2 separate regions of the Homo sapiens genome follow, and region 2 is linked to region 1. Evidence: promoter capture Hi-C in 16 types of primary human blood cells and fetal thymus (Javierre and others, 2016). All regions are on one chromosome and are shown on one strand. The core of a region is centred on a gene start or on the middle of the fragment in contact, and the rest is flanking DNA. Distances in the headings are between cores, read along the strand shown. Region 1 holds the start of CD96 (CD96 molecule). Region 2 overlaps MORC1 (MORC family CW-type zinc finger 1).

What was found. The method cuts DNA at HindIII sites, captures the fragments that hold promoters and counts their contacts. A CHiCAGO score of 5 or more calls a contact.
Region 2: a contact is called between a fragment that was not itself captured here and the fragment with the promoter of CD96 in region 1, in 1 of 17 cell types (naive B cells). The highest score is 11.7, in naive B cells.

What each region holds. Positions count from the first base shown.
Region 1 is chr3:111,540,306-111,546,548 of GRCh38, reverse strand. It overlaps CD96 (CD96 molecule), which reads right to left and starts at 4,352. Exons shown (of 14, transcript NM_005816.5): 1 at 4,240-4,352; 2 at 1,147-1,503. The coding sequence starts at 4,300. It overlaps LOC105374039 (a long non-coding RNA gene), which reads right to left. Exons shown (of 3, transcript XR_001740846.1): 3 at 4,546-4,614. The HindIII fragment of the contact is 7,700 bases long and covers 2,824-6,243 here.
Region 2 is chr3:109,041,953-109,048,316 of GRCh38, reverse strand. All of the region lies in intron 14 of MORC1 (MORC family CW-type zinc finger 1), which reads left to right. Among named protein-coding and RNA genes, the nearest start is that of MORC1-AS1, 56 kb to the left of the region's middle. The HindIII fragment of the contact is 2,637 bases long and covers 593-3,229 here.

The DNA of each region.
Region 1 (6,243 bases), core at 3,103-5,602:
GGGCAGGCATTATTATAATCATTTTCCAAATGGGCTCAGAGAATTTACACCACAGGCCCCAAGTCAAATTTTATTTCTATTCAGAAAGGAGCTAGAACTTAAATCTAGGATTCCCACTTCTAAATGCAGGCCTCCAAAGTATGTTTGGTGTGAATGCTTCATAGTTAGCAGCTTCCTTTGTCCCTTTACCTGCCCTAGACTAAATATTGTATACCCAGAATCACTTTCATAAATTCACCCACAAACCTTCCTTTACCTTCCATCACAGTGAATAGCACCACCATTCAGGTGTGCATGCCAGACACCCAGATGTCACCTTTAACTTCTTTCTCTCCTTCCTTCATACTGCCCTTGTCTTATATTCTCTCTATGATCATATCTGTTTTATGCCCAATGAACAAAATTTGCCATTTTCCTTCTATATCTACCTGAACTACCACTCTCTCTTTTCTGGGCTACTGAGGTGGTCTCCTGAGTTGTCTCTACCTTCTCCTTCTTGTCCATCTTCACCTCATTTTCACATGAAAGTCAGTATGACTTTTTTTTTTTAAACAACACAAATACAGTCAGCCTATAAATGTCATGCCATCCTTTTGTTGGAAATACTTCCATGTCTTCTTATGGTTCTGAGATCAAAATAGAAACCTTTTAAAAGGGAAGCTGACCAGGTCCAACATGATCTGGTCCTTACCTGCCTTATCCTTTAATTGCTGTATTGCTGTCCCACTGGCATTTTCCCATTTCTTCAAACACTCCAAAGAGCTTCATGCAAGCTCTTTTCTCTCTCTGGGATTACTCACAATCCCACTCTGCCTCAGCCCCACCTCCTAAATTGTGGTAGTGTCTACTCATTCTTTAGACTTAAGCTATGGTGTTAATTTCTAAAGGACAATTTCAATGGCCTCTGTGATGTGCTCCTTCACAAGACTGTTACAGTATTTATTATCGACACTTATCACTGTTGCAAGTTTACATTTATTTACTTAAATGCTGTGGTCACTTCCTGTCTCTCTTATCAGACAGTAGCTCTTTCTGCTCAACCTTTGTATGCTGAGCACCAAGCCTAACCTTGCTTTTCTTAAAATGTACATTTGTTGAATGAGAGAGAGCTGAATGAAAGCACATCCCTCTACCAGTTATGCTTACCGTGTGTCTGAATGAGAAGGTTGTAGATTTTAGTCTGAATGCCCTCTGGATACAGAACAAGCATACACTCGTACCTTCCACTGACTGAACAAGACATATTCCTTAAGTGCAGAGTCCATTTTGACCCATTCTCAGGAGTTTCTGTGAAAGTCACAAGTGACTCACAGGGTCTCCCATAGGCACAGTAGAAGCCGTATTGGGGATGATAGACAGCAATCAGGTCTATCTTATTGGTGACCTTGGACCATTGCATCTGCACGAAGAAGCCTACTGTCTGTGTTTGGCAGGTCAGGTTGACATCAGAGCCAAGTGTAGCATAAACATTTTCTTCTGTGTTGACTGTTTTTTCCCAAACTCCTGAAAAGAAAGAACATGAGCCATGAGTTTAAATAATTCACATAGAATGACGCTTAATTAAAAACCCTAGTCACTTCAGTAAGGTGAGGGGAGCAACTGAGGAAATTTCTCCCTGGCTGCTTTAGGAATAGAGTAGAGCTTGTGTCTCACTCAGATAGAGATGCATGAGACAATATAAATGAGGAGGCATTTACGTAGAGAAGCTAGAGGTAATTACTGACTTCTAAATATTTATCTATGTGTTGGTCTGACCAAAATATAATTGAAGGTTTCAGACTACCTGTGAATAAAATTAAGCCTATTTGAAAATTGAAGCACACCAGCAAACTTAGTATGACGATTCTTCTTACGTTTAATATAATTGGCTTTTTGGGTTATAAAACGACAGCTGAATATAATACACACGTGATGCTTTCTGAAACTGCAAAAATAAATGATATGTGTATAGCAATTTCTTTGAAAAATACATGTTTACAAGGGCCTTTCATATCTTATCTTGTTTAATCCCCCTCACACGCCATAGGTGATGTTGTTAACCCCTTTTTATGAGGAAGAAACTGGGCCACAGAGAGATGAAACAGTATGCTCAAAGTCACACCTCCAGGCCTGGCGCAGTGGCTCACGCCTGTAATCCCAGCACTTTGGGAGGCTGAGGTGGGCAGATCATGAGGTCAAGAGAACCAGACCATCCTGGCCAACACGGCAAAACCCCGTCTCTACTAAAAATACAAAAATTAGCTGGGCGTGGTGGTGCACGCCTGTAGTCCCAGCTACTTGGGAGGCTGAAGCAGGAGAATCGCTTGAACCTGGGAGGCGGAGATTACAGTGAGCCGAAATCATGCCACTGCACTCCAGCCTGGCAACAGAGTGAGACTCCATCTCAAAAAAACGAAAAACGAAACAAAACAAAAAAAGTCACACCTCCAGTAAAAGAATGAATTCAGTTGCCCAGAGTCTGTGGTCTTTCTATAACCCTCATAAGTATAACAGTAAAACTCCAGCCAAGGAAGACAAAGAGACCTTTAGAGACCAAAGAGAACTTTATTTAATTCAGGCATCCAGGCCCACAGCAGACTCATGCCCAAAATGGCTGCTGACTCTGACAAAGAAAGCAGGCTTGCTTATATGTCGTTTGAGGTGGGAAAACAAGGCAGGATACAGGTTTCAGGCAAAGACAGTAAATTATTTAACCCGTGACAATTCTGAGAAAACTTACAATTTAGTTATCTTAACCAGTCAATCTTGAAGCTAGACAGAGATGGGGTAAGGTAAAACAGGAGTTACAGAAATATGTGGGGGTCTGGGGGCAGGCAAGAAGCTTGGAAGGTTGAGATAAGCTCACAGCTGCAACTTGTTAGCAATGCTGGGAGGGGCTACTTAAATTTCTTAGCCTACATATAACTTCTAAGTAACCTATACTTAATGTTAACTATTACCTATGTTATGCTTATTATTTTAAACTTTATTATTACTTATTTTATTTTATTTTCCTTCCACATAACTTCCAAACTGTCTCCCAAATTCAGTCTAGTTGATTAGAGTAAGAAATTTCACTTTCAATATACAAGGATTGAAAGGACCTCATCTAACCTTAGGTAGAGGTTCCACTTAGTATCACCTCTAATCGATGGTCTGAAATACTAGACATAAGTAGAGTCTCTTTCCCATCAGCAGTCTGACTGAGTGATACAGGACACTTAAAATGTGTTAAGCATTGAGACTGTGACATGCCTTCAATAGTGTTGGCCTCAGTTTTAGAATTAACATGGAATCCTGTTACAGAAATGATATATATTATTGTGACAAGTACCACTGAAGCTCACAAAAGGAAAAGATAAAAAGATGACAAGCAACTGAGAAGAAACAAGCCTCTTAAAAGTAAAAGTACTTGACAAATGGGAATTATCATACTTCTGTGGATGCAAAAGTTTGGTAGGCAGAGGTTAGTACAGTTTAATGTAACTTCCTGTGAGCTATCCTTTGCCTGAAAATATGGCTCTGATCCTATCTACAGCATTATATTCCAAATCTCTTTTGATTTAGAAATTCTCCTTAATATTTTCATAGCTATGTCTGAAAAGCACAGTTAATTCTTAAGACACTCAGGCTTACTATGATACTCTCATACTGTGGAATACAGAACTAATCTTGCTTCCTTCTCTTTTTAAATAGGCCCATTAGGCTCTCGTTCCCACTGTCATAAGGATTCCACTTTGTCTCCCAGGTTCATACCTACACATGCCTCATTAAAATTCAACGTGTTTTCAACTCCCAAAGACCTTAGTATTTGGATGAGAAATACTTGTTATATCCAAAAGAAAGAGAGTACTTGAGAGAGAAAAAAGTTAAACAAGGATCTCTGAGCGTTGATGGCTTTGTAATTTTTAATTTTTCCGCAGTTGTTTTGGCTACCATTTGGAGAGCATTTCATTTCCAAGAAACACAATTTGCCAATTACTCCAGAGATCCTGTTAGAAAGGAAATGGGTGAAAATGCCTCAGAGCAGTGGCACAAATGACCCATTCCCTTCTTATTTTTAGTGTTCATTAGTAATCATTTCTAGATTCTAGCATCTCTCTTATACCTGCCGCTTAAATACATAACTGAAACCCTTAGTAATGATTTGTCCTTTGGTGATCAATTTCAGCAGCAGTCACAAGGCATTTTAAATGAACAGAGGCCCCATCCGCCCCTAAAGCGGCCCATCCGACAAGAAGGGACAACTGGAAGTCTTACCCTTGACAAAATGTATCTGGATGATGTAATAGACAGCACAGTATTTCCATTTTTTCTCCATTGTCTTCTGAACACCTTACACCAGCATTTCTGTAATGATCACAAAGTCAATTGATGTTTTCAAGCAAACTCCAGCCACCCACTTCGTGCTAAAAAACCCGAACTCTACCACACACGCCTGGGTCTGTTTATCACTTGGCAAGCCCCCAGGAAATGAAACGTAGACAGGAAAGTAATGTGGTTCAGGACTGAGTATAACGTTCGACAGAACAATGTTGAAATTGTTCTCTGAAATTTGTGTATCACCTTATTTAAGAGACTTTTCAGTATCCAAAGAGTCTCTTATTCAGGATCTCTGTGTCAGTCAAGCTGCGTCTAAAATCCAAACAAAGGATATCACGCAGAGCAGTTGGCAATGTGCTTTTTATACATTTTTTTCAAGAGCACAAAGTCATTTAACAAATGTGAGCTTGGTGTTTTTCATAATAGTTTTTCTGTTCAATCTTAAGATATGTTTTCTTTCCAGAATTGCCCTGGGGTGAAAGAACAAAGAATTAACACATTTAATTTTAATAAAATCTGAAAAGTAACAGGGAATAGTGTCAGCTATCAAACCAAATTTTATTGTCTCTCCTCTTGCAGGGAAATGCACATTTCCTGGGAGTGGAGGAGTGAGGGCTACTTTTCTACCCCTCGTCTGGGAAGACGAGGGAAGGTTGGAGGTCAGATAGGGAAGTCTCCCACCAGGTTGGCTGGAGGCCATTTTTGTTCACCACAGAAGAGTTTATCCATGCCTAAGCCAAAGCAAGGCAGTAACAATCAGAATCCAAAGGCAGAGAATTCCCACCTCAGTGAGCTATTAGGCTTATTACATCTGCCTAGTTACTTCTATTTACAGAGAACCGCAAACAGGTTTCAGGAAAGTGACCCCTTGGTAAAAATGTCTGGCTATTCGTAGAACACGATGACTGTTCCCTGCTATGATTCTCTGATTTAATTGTATTAGTTTTTCAGCCTGAGATAAAATAGGCTGTCATCACCCTCCAACATTAAGAAAACAAGCATTAGACTGAGGACTACTGTAAGTTTGATGGACAAAGAATAACTACAAATAAACATGTGTGTCTTCATACAACCGTATGAATGATTAAAATATCCTGTGACCCTAATCTCATTACTAGAATATACGTACCACCTAGCAAGACCAAAGACAAATGAAAAGGCCAGTTGTAATCCTGAGATGGGAATTCTTTTCAGGTGAGGTGGAGATAATTTTCGTCAGGTTGTCATCATGTATACACCAATCTCTCCTATGCAAGGACTCGTGGTGAATATGGACGATGCTAAGACAGAAGGAAATGCTTTTGCCATTCAGGAGATTAAATTTAGATGGGAGAAGAGAGGTTTTCATGTAAATAAACAAGGGCGACTGTCTTCCTGGACGTCCAGATCACCCCCTATACCACCACTGCAAATACTTGCCATGATAATTGCCATACTTATTCAGTATTCCTCAGCTAATGATTTCTTGCAGAATTTAGATGTAGTTACTGCTTGCCTAGTCCAGTGCTCCCCAAACCTTTATTATCACCCCTTCCCAACTTCCCATGAGTTTCAGGTCACTGGGGATATTGGGTCAGGTAGTACTGACAGTGATTTTCCAGGGAAGGCCTGGGAACTCAAAGTCCTTTATAGAAGGTCAGGAAGAGACATAACTGCTCTGGGTAGCTTCATCTCTTCCCATTGCCCCTGGAAATTCTAGTAAATCAAAGTTTTATGAAGCATAGCAGCAAAAATAGTCCTGGAGATGCACTATGAAGATCCTGATTTGCACGTTGGTGTCCCTATTAAATCAGGACACATTACAAGCCTGGAGAAGGGATTCTATGATCTCGTTCCATTTTTCATATTAAGAGGAATTTACCTAAGTAGAAACCAATTCAAATATACATTTATTGAATTCTCTAAGAACAATACCCTCTTTGGGGTATTTAGACTTCTCCT
Region 2 (6,364 bases), core at 662-3,161, 2.5 Mb after region 1:
AATATCATTACCTAAAAGTTATTACCTTCTTAATATAATAAAATATCCAGTCTGTTGTTCATATTTCTAATTATCTCCTGTCATAAACTGCAAGGTTCTTTCTCTATCGCTGTCTCACACTCTCTCCCTCTTCCACTCCCCTCCTCTCTGTTCTTCCTTAAGTTTATTTGTAAGAAAACCAGATTGGTTGTCTTATAGTTATCACACAGTCTAGATTTTGCTCACTGCATTACTAGGAGTAGTTCAACAGGTTCTTCCATTGTGTTCATTTTTATTTAAATTGGTAGACTAGCAGCTTGCCCATTCAGATGTGGCTTTTTGTCAAGATGTTTCATAGGTGGTAGTGTGTTCTTCCATTGTGAGGCTGATTGTCTCTCTTTTAATGATATTAGCAGTCATGATCAATGCGTAGATTCCTTAGGAGTTCAAAAAATTATATTCTCATTCTATTATGTTTTCTTCATCAGCTCTAATACTTCTATAAGGAAAAACTGTCTTTCATCTACTACTTGGTTACCCTTGTTGGTATTTTTACTGTTTAACAGAAGCAACTGAACTCTATACTGCTAAAGAATTGCTTTGGATAAAAGCTTGATGTGAAAAGAGTAAGAGACAATTAAAAGATTAAAATATGATATAGACATTTTGCCTAATTGATTTACATGACATAAATATGTACTCTGTTTAAAATAATTACTTCATGTCAGCTCCCAGCAAATAAAAAGATGGTTCAGGAGTTCATCAAATTGACTGTTGGAAAAAAAAAACCACATTCTTAGATTTAATTCATTTACATTGCTTTCAGCTGGTAATTGAAATTACTACCATTGAAAGCACTTATGCTTCCTTTCTGACTGTACCTGTATTATCATGATAATGACATTTTTTACATCTACAATGAAGTTTTTTGCTAAAATATCTCCGAGGATCTCAGCCGTATTGCAAATAAAATACTAAAAAGTTTAGGACCCTTATTCTTTCTGGAATTCAATAAAATTTGATTCTTATAGTTTGATTTTTCCCTGCCATACCTAAAGGAAGACCTCAAAACTCTCCTCATCAGCCTGCTTAAGAAGAGTAAGTTATATTTAATGAGTCTGAATTTAAAACTGCAATCAGAAACCTAATGTACAATATGAGGACTGTAGGTAATACAGTTGTACTGTATATGGGAGTTTGTGGTTTGGTAAACAGTTCACTTCCCTGTAATAAAGCAGCTCACAATGCATCTTTGAAGTAATATGCTGAGATTCATCTTTTAAACGTGTACATGTAAACTCTTTCCATTATGGCTTTAAACACAATGGTAAGGAATGTCTTTGAAAATCATGTTTTAAACACTTGCTTATGAAGTTCACAGTTTGCTAAATGGTTCATTTCACTATAATAAAGCAGCTCACAATGCATCTTTGAAGAAAAAAAAGTACTGTATATGGGACTTACACTGAGTAGGTTTTAGCTGCTCTTGCTACAAAAACAAGAAAAATAGGTAGCTGTGTGAAATGGATATATTAATTTATTTCACTGTAGTAACCCTTTTACTATCTGTATGTATCCTATAACACATGTTGTATACTTTAAATACACACAATAAAGTTTATTTTAAAATATTCCTCTAATCCATTAAAAATAAAATAATGTAGACAATTAAGCATACATTGTATTAATAAAAATCAAATATGGGTCTTTAGGCTTTTAGGAGCATTAGTTTAGTCAGTAGGCTTCATGTATATCTTGAGTAAGGAGAGTTCTAGTAGAAAGGTAGTCTAACCCAGGTATTGGGGACACATACAGAGCTGACTAGGCTATTGCCCATGATAACACAGAATTCCTTAGGAATACACTTTGGACTTGATTTTTATGTCTAGTTTTGATTTCCACATTTTAGAGGGAAACTGGAATATATCCAAAGGAGAGCAGTGACAATGACTAAATAAAAATATAACCTAAAAAAAGAAGGTCAAATTTATTTCTTCTTGAAGAAAGAACCAGGAGAAACATAATTTTCCCCAGTGTTGTTTTTGAAGATTTGCCGTAATGAGGCCTGTAGCCCTCTCCCTTCTAGTCTCCACGCACAGCATCATGTGGTTCCCAACTGGGAGCCAAAATGCCCTAGGGAATCTCAGAGTATACCAGGGAGTCCATGAATTCCTAAGTCTACAAATAATTGTCTAAGATGGCGTTATGCCTCATACATCTATATGCTATAGATTTTTATATGTATAGAGATGTAGTTGTGGGTAGTAAAATATAAAATTACTCAGTGTTATTAAATTCATAATTTGTTTATTTTTTGTCATCATATATTTTCTTAGGTTGAGGGTGGGGGTTCTAAAAGTTTCTTGCAGCATACGGAGGTCCTCACACTTAAGAAGGTGGGTAACCAGTGATACGGAACTAGAGAAAATGATGCTACATGGCCATGTCAAATGAGGAAGCTGACATTTGGAGTGAATTGGGCCAGCTGCAGACTACTGGAGTTTTGCAGGGGAGCGTACTGTGCTTACAGTAGAGTGGAGAAGTGGAAATGTTCTGACAGCAGCTGCCACATAACTTTTGCCACTGACTGGACTCATAACATGAGACTAGCACAACCGCATGCCACCATACCCAGGAGCCAAGAGAAAGGGAAGAAGGACTGTAGCATCTTCACCACCACTGAATATATCTTGTCTTGCTTTTTTTCACTTCAAGTAGACCACCTTGGGAAGTGAAAAACAAACAGGGATAGCAAATAGGCCTCAATTACCCTTGCACCACACACTAAATCATCATGGCAATTCTTCCTGATAAACGGCAGTTGGCCTCATGGTTCTTCTCAACAGTGTACCAGGCATCATTACCAACTGATTGGAGTTGACATTATCAATTGAAACCAGTTTGTCATCCCTAATCCAGAGCTTTCATTAAGAACAAAGATGATAAGCGATCCCACCTTGGACCAGATTAGGAAGGGTCTGATGCCTGGCTGTTACATTAGCTTTAAATGAGAGGGGTAATGACAAACAGGACAGTATTCAACAGAGGAGGAAGAGTGATTTAACTGTTCCCTGAGAAAAGGTATGAAATTTCGATCTCAGGAGATCTTTAGAATATAATCATCTATTTAGATGCAGAACCACCTGAAAGTGGGAACTGATTTAACATTCTCCAGGTATACCATTTTTCTGGTGCTTTGAGTTTATAAACTGTTTCAGGCCTCCTTATTTTGATGGAGACCATCAAAGCTTTGCTGTGGTAGTTTACTATTGAATTTGATTGAGTCTCTCCTAGGCTCACTGATTCCCTGAATGTCATTGTATGTTCTATGAACAGATACAAAACTGACATCTAAGAGGATGTTGTATTTCTTTTTCTTTTTTTTTTTTTTTTGAGACAGAGTCTCACTCTGTTGCCTAGGCTGGAGTGCAGTGGCATGATCTCCGCTCACTGCAACCTCCACCTCCTGGCTTCAAGCAATTCTCCTGCCTAAGCCTCCCAAGTAGCTGGGATTACAGATGCCCGCCACCACACCTGGCTAATTTTTTGTGTTTTAGTAGAGACAGAGTTTCACCATGTTGGTCAGGCTGGTCTTGAACTCCTGACCTTGAATGAGCTGCTCACCTCAGCTTCCCAAAGTGCTGGGATTACAGGCATGAGCCACCATGCCCCACACATTTCTCTTATTTTTAAGAGGCAAAATATGTGTCAGCTGCTCTTGTAGTTACTGGTTTTTGGCAAATTTTCAGTAAATTATTGCAGTATTTCCTTTTTTTTTTTGAGGTGGAGTCTCGCTCTGTTGCCCAGGCTGGAGTGCAGTGGCGTGATATCGGCTCACTGCAAGCTCTGCCTCCTGGGTTCACGCCATTCTCCTGCCTCAGCCTCCCAAGTAGCTGGGACTACAGGTGCCCGCCACCATGCCTGGCTAATTTTTTGTATTTTTAGTAGAGATGGGGTTTCACTGTGTTAGCCAGGATGGTCTGGATCTCCTGACCTCGCGATCCGCCCGCCTCAGCCTCCCAAAGTGCTGGGATTACAAGTATTTCCCTTTTTTTTTTCCCCAGGTGCTTGGTTTAAAGAGGCTCCTGAACAATTCATTAGATTAATTTAAATATTAGGAATCTACTGAATAAAGTATTCCATACATAGCTGGCAGTAAATTAACCTTTCAGTTTTTTTCTCACAGATACTTCTTCTAGAAATTGAGAATTTAATTCTGTGTGCATTAATCCCGGATTATCCTATTAATTTAATGAGCTTATTGGTTCTTCATACAAAAGTCTTAAGATATGTACTCTTTTATAATTTTGAAAATTAGCTGTGTGCTTTCAGCCATCTACTCTTTGTAGTAGTAAACTGAATTTTTTAATCGACCTATCTTGAGGATGTTAAAATAATTTATAATTTTGGAGTTAATGAATTTGGGGTTATCTGCATGGCTCTTTTTATAGGTGGATAGAAATATTTTGGTTAATGTTTTTTGGAAGAGACATTATTCCACTTTCATTTTATTTCAGACAACATATTAATGAGGCATTTTGTCAAGAATAGCAGCAACGTTGGTTGAGGGCTTGTTAGGTGCAGGATGCCGACCTACAAGTTGAAGACATGCAGAATTATAAAGCACACTTCCTCCTTTGGAAAAGTGCAGTGCTCATGGAGAAGTAACTTTTAAAGAGGAAAAATACGTGACAACAGCAAACTTAAATTTCTGCAGGGCTCTTTTGTGTTTTTTTTCTTTTTTTTTCATTATGATGAAATACATATAACATGAAATTTACCATCTTAACCACTTTTAAGTGTACAGTTGAGTAATGTTAAGGACATTTAAATGCTGTACAACTGTCACTACCATCCATCTCTAAAACTCTTTTCATCTTGCACAACTAAAATGCTATACCCATGAAACAATAGCTCCCAATTCCCCGCTTTTCCATCCTCTGACAACCACCATTCTACTTTCTGTCTCTATGATTTTGACTACTCTAAGTACCTCATGTAAGTGGAACAATACAGTATTTATCCTTTTCTGACTGGCTTATTTCACTTAGCATAATGTCCTCAAAGTTCATCCATGTTATAGCATATGTCAAATTCCCTTCATTTTTAAGGCTGAATAATATTCTGTTATACACACCCCCCCCCCCCCACATTTTGCCACATTTTGCTTATCCATTCATCTGTGGATAGACACTTGAGTTGCTTCCATGTTTTAGCTATTGTGAATAATGTTACTATGAAGATGGGTATACACATTTCTCTTCAAGGCCCTGTGTTTTTTAAAAGCAATTTTCAAGTACATAACATATTGTTATTAATTATAGTCACAATGATGTACAATAGATCTTCTGAACTTATTTATCCTGCCTAACTAAAATTGTGTATCCTTTTACCAACATCTCCCCAACCCCCTCCCCCAGCCTCTGGTAACCATCATTCTACTCTGTGCTTCTATGAGTTTGACTTTTTAAGATTTCACATATAAATGAAATATACAGTATTTGTCTTTCAGTGCCTGGCTTATTTCACTTAACGTAATGTTCACCAGGTTCATTCATGGCTTTGCAAATGACATTTCCTTCTTTTAAAAGGCTAAATAGTATTCCATTGTATAGGTACCACATGTTCTGAAACCCTTTATCTATTGATGGACATGTAGATTGATCCCATATCTTAGCTATTTATAAATAGTGCTGCAATGAATATGGGTGTGCAGGTATCTCTTTAACATACTGATTTCATTTCCTTTGGATAAATATACAGAAGAGGACATGCTGGATCATATAGTAGTTCTATTTTTAATTTTTGAAGGAAACTCCATATTATTTTTCATAATGGCTACACTAATTCATACTCTTGCCACCAGTGTTAGGGTTTGTTTCTATCCGCATCCTTGCCAACACTTACCTTTCATGTCTTTGGTAATAGTCATTCTAACAGGTATGAGGTGATATCTCCCTGTGGTTTTAATTTGTATTTCCCAGGTGCTTAGTCACATGGAGCATTTAAAAAATATATACGTGTTGGCCACTTATATGTCTTCTTTTGAAAATTGAGACCCTGCTTTAAGTTCTTTTGTGTATATACCCAGCAGTGGAATTGCCAGATCACATGGTAATTCTATTTTTAATTTTTTGAGGAACTACCATATTCTTTTCCACAGTGGCCACACCATTTTACTTCCCACCGACTGGGTTCTTTCCCACAAAATAATCCTAATCCTAATGAGTAGGATTCTAATGAGTATAAAGTGGTATCTCATTGCAGTTTATTTGAATAGTCTCTCCCTTTCTTTCTCTCATTTCTTCTAGGGTTTCCATAAGGTGTATAATGGCTTACTTGATGATGTCTAGTTCTTAGGCTCTGTTCACTTTTATTCAATTTT